Linked DNA regions of Homo sapiens: region 2 is linked to region 1. The links are contacts of gene promoters, found by promoter capture Hi-C in blood cells and fetal thymus (Javierre and others, 2016). All regions are on one chromosome and are shown on one strand. The core of a region is centred on a gene start or on the middle of the fragment in contact, and the rest is flanking DNA. Distances in the headings are between cores, read along the strand shown. Region 1 holds the start of EPHA3 (EPH receptor A3). Region 2 has its middle 300 kb from the start of CSNK2A2IP.

Region 1 (5,705 bases), core at 2,005-4,504:
AGAAAGTATTTTTACCAATTCTGAAAGGGTTGAAGTAACCACAGTTGATAATTTTATTTTATATCCAGTTTTAACTTTGTTCCAATGTTATTTCTGTTTACCATTAATCATCCCTGTGGTATGGAAACTAGGAGTAAGTATATGAACTTTTAAAATAATACGTAGTGTAGCAATCATATTTTGCCATGAAAAACAGCTGATCTCCCATTAAAAGTCTTTTCTTAAGCCATGTAAACAGAGAGACCTGATAAGAATTTAATAAAGTTTTTATAAAGTTCTGTTTAAGTATATAGGCCAATTGCTGAGTCAAGTGATCATTGGAATTATGAATATCTGTTATCGTTGATGAGTCCCTATTATCACCTGGAGTCATTTTCTTGAAAGCATATAAGAGAGATATTTGTAAATACATTAATAGAAGGAAAATTCAGATTAAACATTTTCTAAGTTATTTTTCTTATCAGGGACCCATGGCATTTCAATATTGATGTTTAATGATTAAATCTTAAATTAAAAAACACATCACACAACTGCAAATGTCCTAGCAATTAAGTCAATGGCCTGGTTTTGTTCTCTTTGGTTCTCAAATGCCTAACTTCATAACAGATTGAAGAATATATTCTAGTAAATATGTTTCAGTAAATTTCTCATAAATTTTTTACAGTGTTGAAATATTTCAATCATAATATTTTAAATACAGTCTAGTATTTCATATTTCAAAATTAAAAAATTATATCAGAAAACTACATTAATACCATTTTTAAATCACCACTCCTCTCATATATACATTTTCAAAAGAATTGCTTTCTATTTAAATTACATTGTTAGAAAAATTGCACGGAAATCTTGGCACATACTTGGCATTTTCACTTTTCATGTTATTCAACTCAACTGAGAGCCCAGCTATGGATAATATTTAAAATCTCACTCAAGTATTACCTAAGTTAAATCATCTTAAATTTGTTTTAAAGCTTCCCTTCACAATCACAGGAAGGAAAAGAGACACTACCCATAGGACACAATCTGGAAGGAATAATCCCATGAATGATGGATAAACTTTCATCCAAGCAAATTAAATGCAATTATGTCAGCTTTCTGAATATATTTACCTTTCTATATCCATATGGTTAATGTGTACCTGTCTGTATAATTATATACATTATATCCCCAAACATACATGAGGTGAGGCTTAAAAGCAATTTGTATTTGATTAACTCTGTTTCATTAAATTAATACTGATTAATTTTACATAGGTGTGAAATAGTTTGGTGTCTTTTTTTTTCTCTTGCAGTTTACTTAAAGGTTGTTTTCCACAAAAATACTGACTAACAGCTACATTCTTGTGCATAATTAATTCAGTAATATCCATATCTACATAGTTCATAACCATTCTATCTGGAAAATATAATTTATCATGACAATGTGGGAATTTTAATACTATTTTTCTAGTTATTGTCAATATTTTAATATCTGCAAAGAACAAAAATTTTTAAAACATTAAGTTTAATTTATTGATATGTTACCTATTATACATGTTACCCGTTATACAAATGAATACTCTTACCTTTCATTCAGGAAGAATGATTGACTCTTACTTTCAAATAAACATTTTAATTTGGTTTGTAAAATAAAAAGTCATTTGTGGGTAAGATAATTTTCTTGATCCTTATATTTTAGAATTTTCATTTTCTTATTTAGAAAAAAGATTCAGAACATTTAATGAAAACTGCCAAATTGATAAAGGCAGTCAGTAAGGAAGGAGATAAATTACTGCTCTATTAGCAGTGAAAGTAGGTCACCGAGTATCAGGCAGTTATTACATTTAATAAAAAACTTTCTAAGTATTTTGTTTTTACTCGTGTTTTTAAAATTAAGGTACATATACAACAGTATTGGCTTGACAATATATTTTCTAAGGAGTGATGTATATAACATGATGTTTGCACATCAGTTGCTCGGTATTGTTAACTTGCAAAATAAATTGCTAAATGTTACTGTTATAAGTTCAAAATCACTAAGAGGAAATTAATGTTGTAAGTGTGGCTTTACACTAATCAATTATTTAGAGAAGTTTGTTTTACGAGTTAGTGACTGTATTCACAAGAATAGATCACAAAAGGAATACAGGAGAAAGAAAATGTATGTATTAAGTACACAATCTTATAGAACACATTGGTGTCCTTAACATTAGGTTTGCACTTTAACCCACTGAAAAGGAATTAATGCTCATTACAAGGATAATAAATAACACAACATCAAGGAAATGCCATTTGCTGCATATGAACATTCTCTCTTAATCTACTATTCAGTTATTTACTATATCTTCCCAGGAGCTATCCACTATTCATTAAATACATTCTCCTATTTGTATATAAGCCTTTAAACAAAGAGAATCCAACCTAAGCTTATTGTAATTCTTGCAAATATTACTTACGTTAATGTGGCATATGCTGCTCTTTAGAACCTGTACCATAGAGCAAACCATTGCCTGGCGGGATACACACAACTTCAACACAGCCCTTGCACCATAAACACGCACCTCCGCTTCGACAAACTCTGATTTCCCTTTAGTCCATTCATAAATGCCATGATCCCAAGTAGGAACAACCTGTCATTACCTTTAAACATACTAAAGAGTCTAGAGAGGAAGGCTGAATTTTCTTTCAAACTTCTCGGAGTACCACATGGTCATAATTAGAAAATAAAATACTGCCTTGGCTATTTGGCAATTAACATAACTGGGTTGCAACGCTGGAGGATTTTCTTTCTTTCTTTCTGCTCAAATTGGCAAACAAGGTAATTGCTCGAAATGGTGTCAGATTAAAAACACATTTTCAAAGTTTAGACCATCTAAAATTATCTCCTGAAGTGTTTTAGAAGACAGTTGGAAAAAAAAAAGGCACATCTTTCCTTCACTCTCAGAGCAAACTGCTCTATTCGGAGGCACCTTCCCGACGTGCAAGGCTTCGGTGAGAACGTGCTTTGAAGAGCGTGAGCCCCGCGGGGCAGAGCTCCGTGCGTCGCGGTACCTGGCTTACCTTCATTGGAAGGCTGCGGAATCAGTTCCCCGAAGCTGTCGAGAACAGAGCAGCTGAGAAGGAGGAGGATGGAGAGCTGACAATCCATGTTGCTGGTGCAGAGGGCAGTGAGAGGAGCATATCTCCATGAAGCATGCCACTGATGTGAGGGGGAGCGCTCTGATTGCTGGAGAAGTTACCATGCTCCGCTCGCAGGCTGATGTCAAGTTTGACACTGGAGATAAGGAGGAGTCTGGCTGCCTTTCCGCGAACCCCGCTCGGGGACTTCCCTGGGTCCTAGTGCCGTCTTCAGCGTGCGCTGAAGCAGAGCGGGATGGCACGCAGCTGGCTCTGCAGCCCAGAGCTGCTCGGGAAGGAGACCGGGTGGGAGTGGGGGCGTCGCCCATGGGACAGGAAACACAGAAGATGTGATGAGGCCGCGGTGCTGAGAAAAATGCTCCCTCTTTTGTGTTGCATGAAAAGTAGCTGTTTTATTGTTTGCTATCCATGCTCTGTTGCTTAATTCACCGAAGAAATCACAGCCTTGATAGGAGTATCATATGGCAATGTGAGTGCAAAAGGAACTGAAATGCGAGAGAAACGTGTGTTTTGAAAGAATAGCAGTCTTTCGTTAAAAAGTCAATCATGTTTGTATAATTGAAAAAAATGATTATAGTTATTCCTTTACTGTGTTCAATGTGATCATAACTCTCCATGAGTTCTTTGTGATTCAGAAAGACACTAATACACAGCCTGAATCAGAGGGTCTCTGCATTTCCACACCCAATGGTATCGTGGCTTTTTACTAGATCTGGCACAGTGATTTTCCGCGCACATAGAGCATACTTTGTTTTTTTTCAAACAGGGAAGTTGACCTTCATCATCTTACGGAAGGGAGCAAGTCTAACCCCAGCCGGAGGTCTACATTCTTTTCTCGTTCTGTGTTGTAAAAGTAATACAGATCAAACCTAAATTTCTTAATAATACATATCCCCCTCCCTCACCATCTCACATTAGGATCTCTGGGTTCTGCAAGAGAAACAATGCATAATTCACAGCTCCTCCATTCAACTTTCAACCACTGATAGTCTAATAATATTGGGGTATTCTTATTCTTTAACATTCCAAATCCAAAAGCTAAATAATAATGTCCTCGTACTTTCTCACTTATTTTACACCATGACTATCAATGGTCTCTGTTATTTCCAATCCCATTGCTGAACAACCTATTGCAATCTAGTTCAGCCAAACAATTTTGTAATTTATATTTTAATAACCAGCATCACTTATCTTTAAAATATCTCCCAGAAAATGGTTACTCAGATATCCTTCCGCCCATCTATCTCTTCTTATACTAAAAAGAAAACAAGATTATTATATTCCTCTCACAACTTCAGAAAATAAAGGTATGTTGATAATCTTAAGATCAGTGATCAATTTTAGAGCTCTTGATAATGAAACTTAAATGAAAGTTTGAAAAGCCCTTGCTAATAATGTATTCAGTCCACAAACTCAATGTTTTTAGTTAGAGAACACAATTTTCACTTGAATTTAAGTTAATGGTGCCAGATAATAGTTTGATGACTGGGGTGGGGAATTGGGGTGGATAGAAGCAGCCAGGGGAAAAGAGAGATCCTTCTCACTTTTCTGTGTATGCCATGTTACTTTGTGTCTCTAACTTCTTTCCACATTGTGTCACCAGAGGCTGCGCAATCCTCAAGTGCCAAGTCTGTCAGAATTGAAAATAATAGCAGATACTGCCCAGAGAACTTAGACAGTGGTGACTCTGGTGTTTTTTCAAAGTTCCAGCACAACACTTACATTGTTCCAAAGTTAGATACACGTTTTCTGAAACTTGAAAGAAACTAAAATCTTATTTGGAATTGACAATTTGAAAACATTTTGGAGAATCTGCCAATGTGCTGACACGCAGATCCATTGGCGCCCCTCATGCTATTTCTCTTTTCACACTTGAAAACTTAAAAACTGCTTGTCACTGGGAAAAAAGGCATTCATGTTTGCAGAAAGCTACAGGAGTGGCAAAATGAGTACAAAGCAATACCTGGCCTGAAAATAGAATGTAAATGATATAGAATCTCTAAATTGTCAACTCTCTAGTGAAAAGTAAAAGGTTTCCATTATGTAGGCGCCATTCTGGACAGATGGGGAAAAGGGAGTGATGCCAATAAGCAGAGAAGAGCAACCATAGCAGGAGTGGAAAGGATGAGGTGGGGGCAGCAGATGCAGGGAAGCCCTTATTAAGAAAGTGGTAGTTGAGTTGCAGCTTGAAGGATGGGTAGGAGTTCACTAGTAAGAAAATGATTCAGAAGGAACTGCAGGCAGGCAAGTCCAGAGAGTGTCCAAGTGAGCCAAAAATGAAAGCATTTGGCACATATGGAATACAGAGTATATTAGAGTATTTGTGGTAGGTAAAGGGCCGGAATAGGAGGAGGTATGGATTGGAGACAAAATGTAGGGAAATATTCTTCAAAGGACTGGTTGAAAACTACAGAGATTTCGATGCCACATGTCAATGATTTTACAATATATTTTAAACTAAAGAGAGACATCAAAAGCATTTCAGCAAGTAGTAAATTGATCATGTCTCAGTCTGGGGACAAAAGTTTACTAATAGCATAAAACAGGATGTCTCCACCTGGGTGCAATGCTTATTAAGAAGTGATGCCT
Region 2 (5,705 bases), core at 2,148-4,647, 470 kb after region 1:
ATATATAAATATATATAGTTATATATATAAATATATATTTATAATTTATAAATAATAAATAAATATTTATATATATATAATATAATATAATAGATTATATCTTTTATAATCTATTTTATAGACAAAAAATCTATTTTATTTGCTTTGCATTTATTTATTTATCAAATATATATACAACTCTTGTTATAAGCAAAGTGTTTGTTAGGAATTTATGGATGAATTGTGTGGAGAGGGAGGAATATGACCTAGTCATTTCCCAGCTGTACTAATATTTTTATTTTTATCTGGGTTTACATACTCCATATAAAAACCATATACAAATATAAGATACAGTTTATAATTTTATAATGTAAGTAGTAAAATCTTTCTTTTTTCCTGAAGGGGCTTCTCTCTGTTTTATTCTTGATCGTGTCATAGTCAGTGAAGGAACTATAAGTTTGTTTGTTTTTTCAGCCAGTATATGAGCTCTATTTCAGATTAGAATAAATTGCTTAAAATTTCAATTTTAAATCAATTTGAAGAATATTACCTTTTGCTCTGTTTTTGATGTTTTTAATTAAAGAAGATGAAAATATGCACAAATTTGTTTGATAGAGATTATAAATTTTTTTCAAAAAAATAAAGATAACTATTCAATGCTTAGAGTATTTGAAATATGGAGATAAGAAAGTTGGCTAAATTTCTTTTTCTGGAAAAAAAAATGGCAAATCAGATAAAAGAAAGCAAGAAGAGTATTAATATTACCACTACAGTAAAAATCATTCTGAACCAAAGCAAATGTATTTTTTTGGTTCCATTAATATTTAAGGTTCCAGTTTTTTTCTACTGTCCTATGAGACTTCAAAGACACTAATACTTTAAAAACAATTCTTAAATTATAACAAAAATGTGTATATAAAAATATTGCCTGAGAACTCTTTCATTTATTTTGCTTCAGTTCCTTCCCTTTCTTTGCCTATGTGTCTTTTTTTATTCAACAATGTGGATCTTTATTTAAGGTGCTGGTGACATTAGAACAATAAAATGAAGTCTTGGGAACTATATGCATGGAAATTATTCCTAATGAAACCCTGGAATAGAATAGAACACATAGATCGAAATGGATGAAATGTACTCAGAGCAGAGCAGCAGTTCTGCCTATCCTTAGAGAACATAGCATTATTATACTATTATCTGAAAAGGGTTTAATTATATTCACATTATATCCATCTGCCTTAAAACCCTTATCATACCAGAACATGCTGAGAAATCTACTTTCCAAACACTTAACCTGCAAAATCCCTTGTGTAAATCTGCAAGTTTCAATGGCTTTATGGAATCCAAAAATGTCTCTAGAGGCTTTCCTTTGATTTTTCTCTATCCTGCCTACATTGAGTAAACAGAAAGCCCATTGACTCTCAGTTATCTGGAAACCCATTTTCCACTTTATGATTTTTTTTTTTTTTTTTTTTGCAGAAAGGCTTTTTAATTCCTTATGTTCCTATGTGTGCATCTGGGATATTGGTCTCACTTAGATATGTTAACATTGGTACTACTATCTAAACATTGTTTTTGAAGGGCAACCAGCTGCATTTCAAATCATGATAACAAGTCAAAAACACAAAACATCCTAAAATAAAATAGCATTTTAAGAGTGTATTATTAATAACAGTAGAATTTATTTAACTAAAGTAAAATGGTACAAAACTTTTTTTAAAAAAGAGGGTGAACTCTGCTGCTATTTGTATAACATGCACGACTAGTTTTTTCAACTTCAAGAATGCATTAGGAACAGAATGGAAAGTGCACTTCACATTAAAAAGTCCCTTAAAAAATGTCCAAACATACTAATTAATAAACCTGAATTCTTTAAAAAAAAAAAAAAAGCTTTCTCCCAGTATCAGGAAATCTTTTCTTCTATATAACATGCTTTTTCATATATAAAATCTATTTTGAGATTTAAAAAAATACTTTAAACACTTCAAAATATTTATTTAGACATAAATGTGTATAAGTCTGTAGCAAGACTCACTTTTCCAAATAGAGAAATATGTGCAATCAATTCTGTTTTCAATACTCAACAGTTTTTTTTAATTTCATCTTCTCTTTGTCTTTTAATTTAGTTTATACACTATATAACACTTGGCTTTAAAAAGTAGGCTATCAAGTTTCAAGTGGTAAGAAGTGTTAAAAGAATCAGCCTATGCTTATTTTTGTCTAGGTTTTATTCTATATCCTTATGGTTTCCTGTTTCTTGTCATGTCACATGAGGTGGTTAAAATTTTATTTTTATGTTAAAATAGTTTGCTAGATATCTTTTGTTTGTTCCTTCAAATCCATTCCCCATTATTCCCCATTCTGTTCTTTGTCCCGGTAGGCTGACTTTGTTGAAATACATCAATAGTCTCCCTTAAACTCTGCTGGTTTCCCATTGATTTAAACCAAGGGGAGATTCTGCAGGTGATCAGAGGGTGAGAGGATGAGATCATGGAGTTTATTCCTGCAGTTCCATCTCTGTGGGATCACCTTGTACTGTTTCAGTCCTTCAACTGATGGTCAATGCTTCCCTCAAGGAAGCCTCCTCTATACTGTCCTCTCATTCTAGGTTTCTGTAGCTGGCACTTCCCCATACAAATTCTTCCCTGGCTTCGAAGTGGTAACAGATATGCTGATAATAGCCTTCTGGGTATGGCATTATCCTTTGTGATTTCTCTGCACCCTCCCCATATTGTTGTAAATACCCTCTTTCTAACACCACCTTAAAAATAGGATACCATTTTGTGACATCTATTTTCTGGCTTTATACAACTTGGTTGTATAAAGTTGGCTTTATACAACTTGGTTTTTATTAACATCTTGGCTTTCTTGATTATCGATTCTCTACCCCACTTCAGATACAGTTCTTCCTATTAAAGGAAACTTGTGTGTGTGCCTCCCAGTAGGCATAACTTTTATCCTTTCCACCAATTTTCTATTTTTCTATATAAAAAATTGTATACATCAGTAAAATAAATTGAACTTCAAGTATTGTTTTGAAATGTATAAAGAAAAGGGCCATGAATAAAACCTTCATCAAGTGAGCAATTTGCAGTTGAACAGCAATTCCAATTACCGGTACCCAAGTTCCCAGGCTTCTTTGTGGTGGTATTTGTAGCTGATTAAATTTCTCCTAATTTTATGTATGGGTACACAACATGAAAATTAAAACAAAATATATTACCACTTTCAGAAATGAAAATGTATTCCTGAAACAGCATTTTGAATGTGGCCTTCTGCTCCAAACAAGTGAAATCACAGTTAGCATTTTGTGTTTTGAATGAATGAATTCTTACTGGGTTTATACAAAACAGTAAGTGGAAAATTAATTATTATATAGATGGATAATCCCGTTTAACTATTTATAAAATAGCAGAGTAAAATTTCTGAATTTTATAACATAACCCACCTCTCTTACTTTTCTTCATTTGGAAAAAAAAAAATTTTAAGAGGTTTTTTCTGTAGTAAGAATGTTAAACATGTTGAAAATGCTTCTGAAACAAAACAAATCAAAAAACCATTTTAGGAATAAACTATGTAATAATCTAGTCAAATGCAAATAAAGAAAATGTAAATAATTCCTATATTTTCCATCAAAGCTATAGGCCTTGCCCAGGTCTGTCAGATCAGCCTTGTGGGTGGTTAGATAGCTACACATTTCAAACATTATCTTGCCACACAACTAAACCCAGATCACTGAGAAGGGAAGAGGGATAATTCTAAATAAAAAAAAATGGTCTAACATGTGAAGAAAACATTTCATTCTTTAGAATTTGCTAAATCATTATAAAAAGCATTCAATAATAATTATAGCTAGGATTTGTTGAGCACTTCGTATATTGCTTTATTTAAACTTCTCAACAACCTCTAAAAGGGACATATTTTTATTATCCCACTTTATTGATCAAGATCTATTCAGAACACAAAAACATATTAGTAATTTAAAGGCAGAAAACTAGATAGGAAGAATTATTAATTAGAAAAACATAGTTAATTACTACAAGAGGTAAGAGAAAGTTCTAAAAAGAACTTTTGCTACACAAGTAGCAAAGTCGTCAAGTAGCTATGATCCATAGGGCTTTGAAAGAGCACACATGGAAAGGGCTACCTGAAGGATAAGATTCAGACCTCTTTGAAGAGGATGTGGCTGCAGACCCTTGGATAGCAGAGAAGTTCCCTGCAGTGCCTGGCATCAAAGCTGGCCAGCAGCAGGCAGGACAGGGCTAGTAATCAGAAAGCTGAGCTAAATTTGTCTGGGGAGTAGGGCCACTAAAGCTACACCCTGTGGTGCTGGCAAACTCATAGGAGGGGGAATGTCACTGGGTCTCCCGCATAAGATAATCAGCTGTGACATAGAGGTAAGAAGAAAAGTACACCAGAACCAGGAGCAAAAGCCTTCCTTCTGCTTATGTCTTCTGGTGTCCCTTCACTGCCTTCTCCTGGCGAAGTCCAACATTGTTCCAATGGCAAAAGAAAAATGTTCACAGGGTCCAGATCCAGAATCAGGAAGCTGAGCATGAGGGGTGGATTTAGAATTAAGAGTAAATAAACTGATAACTGTACCACCCTCTTTAAGGATGAGAAAACTGAAACTTATTGAACCTCCATAACTAGTACATGCAAAGGCAAGAGTCAAACCCATTCCGAATTAAACTCTCTTCTTAATCCCTACTCACTGTATTGCTTTAGTAACAAGCTACCCAGCCACAGGAATTCTACTCTATAATAAAATTGTAAATATTTCCAGTTTCTATAACGTTGTAACAATTGTTCAATTCTAATTGCAACTATATTTCCTAAGTTGTACATGATTTCAACCATGAAGTAGGTGGCACTGGAATTCAAATGTACAAGCATATGAAAGCAAAAGTAACCACAGACAACAAAGGAAGTACCTATTAAAGGAAAGCTTTTGGCTGTGTTAGGATCATTAGAAAGTGTCACTCTTCATCTCCAGGCACTGGAGTGAATCACTTGAATAGGGCCTGAAGTGAACCCCCTGCAAACTCCAGCAGCCCTACAAAAGAGGGACCTCACTATTGAAATAAAAACAAACAAGCAGAAAGTGACAACAAAGCATCAACAACAACAACAACAAAAAGGCCTCCACAAAAACCCCATCCCAGGGTGAGAGGCACAAAGACTGAAACTAGACAAACTCACGAAGATGAGAAAGAATCAACAAAAAGAATGCTGAAAACCCAAAAGACCAGAGTGTCTCTTCTCCTCCAAATGATCACAACATCTCTCCATCAAGGACGTAGAACTGGACGGAGGATCAGATGGATGAATTGACAAAAATAAGCTTCAGAAGCTGGGTAATTAAAAACTATAATGAGCTAAAGAAGTATGTTCTAGCCCAATGCAAAGAAGCTAAGAATGTTGATTAAAGGTTCAAGGAATGGCTATCTAGAATAACCAGTTTAGAAAGGAACATAAATGACCTGATGGAGCTGAAAAACACAGCACAAGAACTTTGTGAAGCATACACAAGTATTAACAGCTGAATCGACCACGTGGAAGACTACCTTACTGAAATAAGACATGCAGAAAAGAATAGAGAAAAAATAATAACAAGGAATGAACAAAACCTCCAAGAAGTATGGGGCTTCATAAGAAGCCCAAACCTACAATTGATTGGAGTACCAGAAGGAGACAGGGAGAATGAAAACAAGCTGGAATACACACTT

What was found. Contacts are between HindIII fragments. The CHiCAGO score rates a contact against its expected background, and 5 or more counts as called.
Region 2: a fragment that was not itself captured here is called in contact with the fragment with the promoter of EPHA3 in region 1 in 1 of 17 cell types (megakaryocytes); the score reaches 6.9 in megakaryocytes.

The regions. Positions count from the first base shown.
Region 1 is chr3:89,105,170-89,110,874 of GRCh38, reverse strand. EPHA3 (EPH receptor A3) reads right to left here and starts at 3,254. Exons shown (of 17, transcript NM_005233.6): 1 at 3,039-3,254. The coding sequence starts at 3,126. RefSeq lists an enhancer at 3,273-3,412. The HindIII fragment of the contact is 3,372 bases long and covers 2,407-5,705 here.
Region 2 is chr3:88,639,976-88,645,680 of GRCh38, reverse strand. No RefSeq gene overlaps it. Among named protein-coding and RNA genes, the nearest start is that of CSNK2A2IP, 300 kb to the right of the region's middle. The HindIII fragment of the contact is 3,058 bases long and covers 1,869-4,926 here.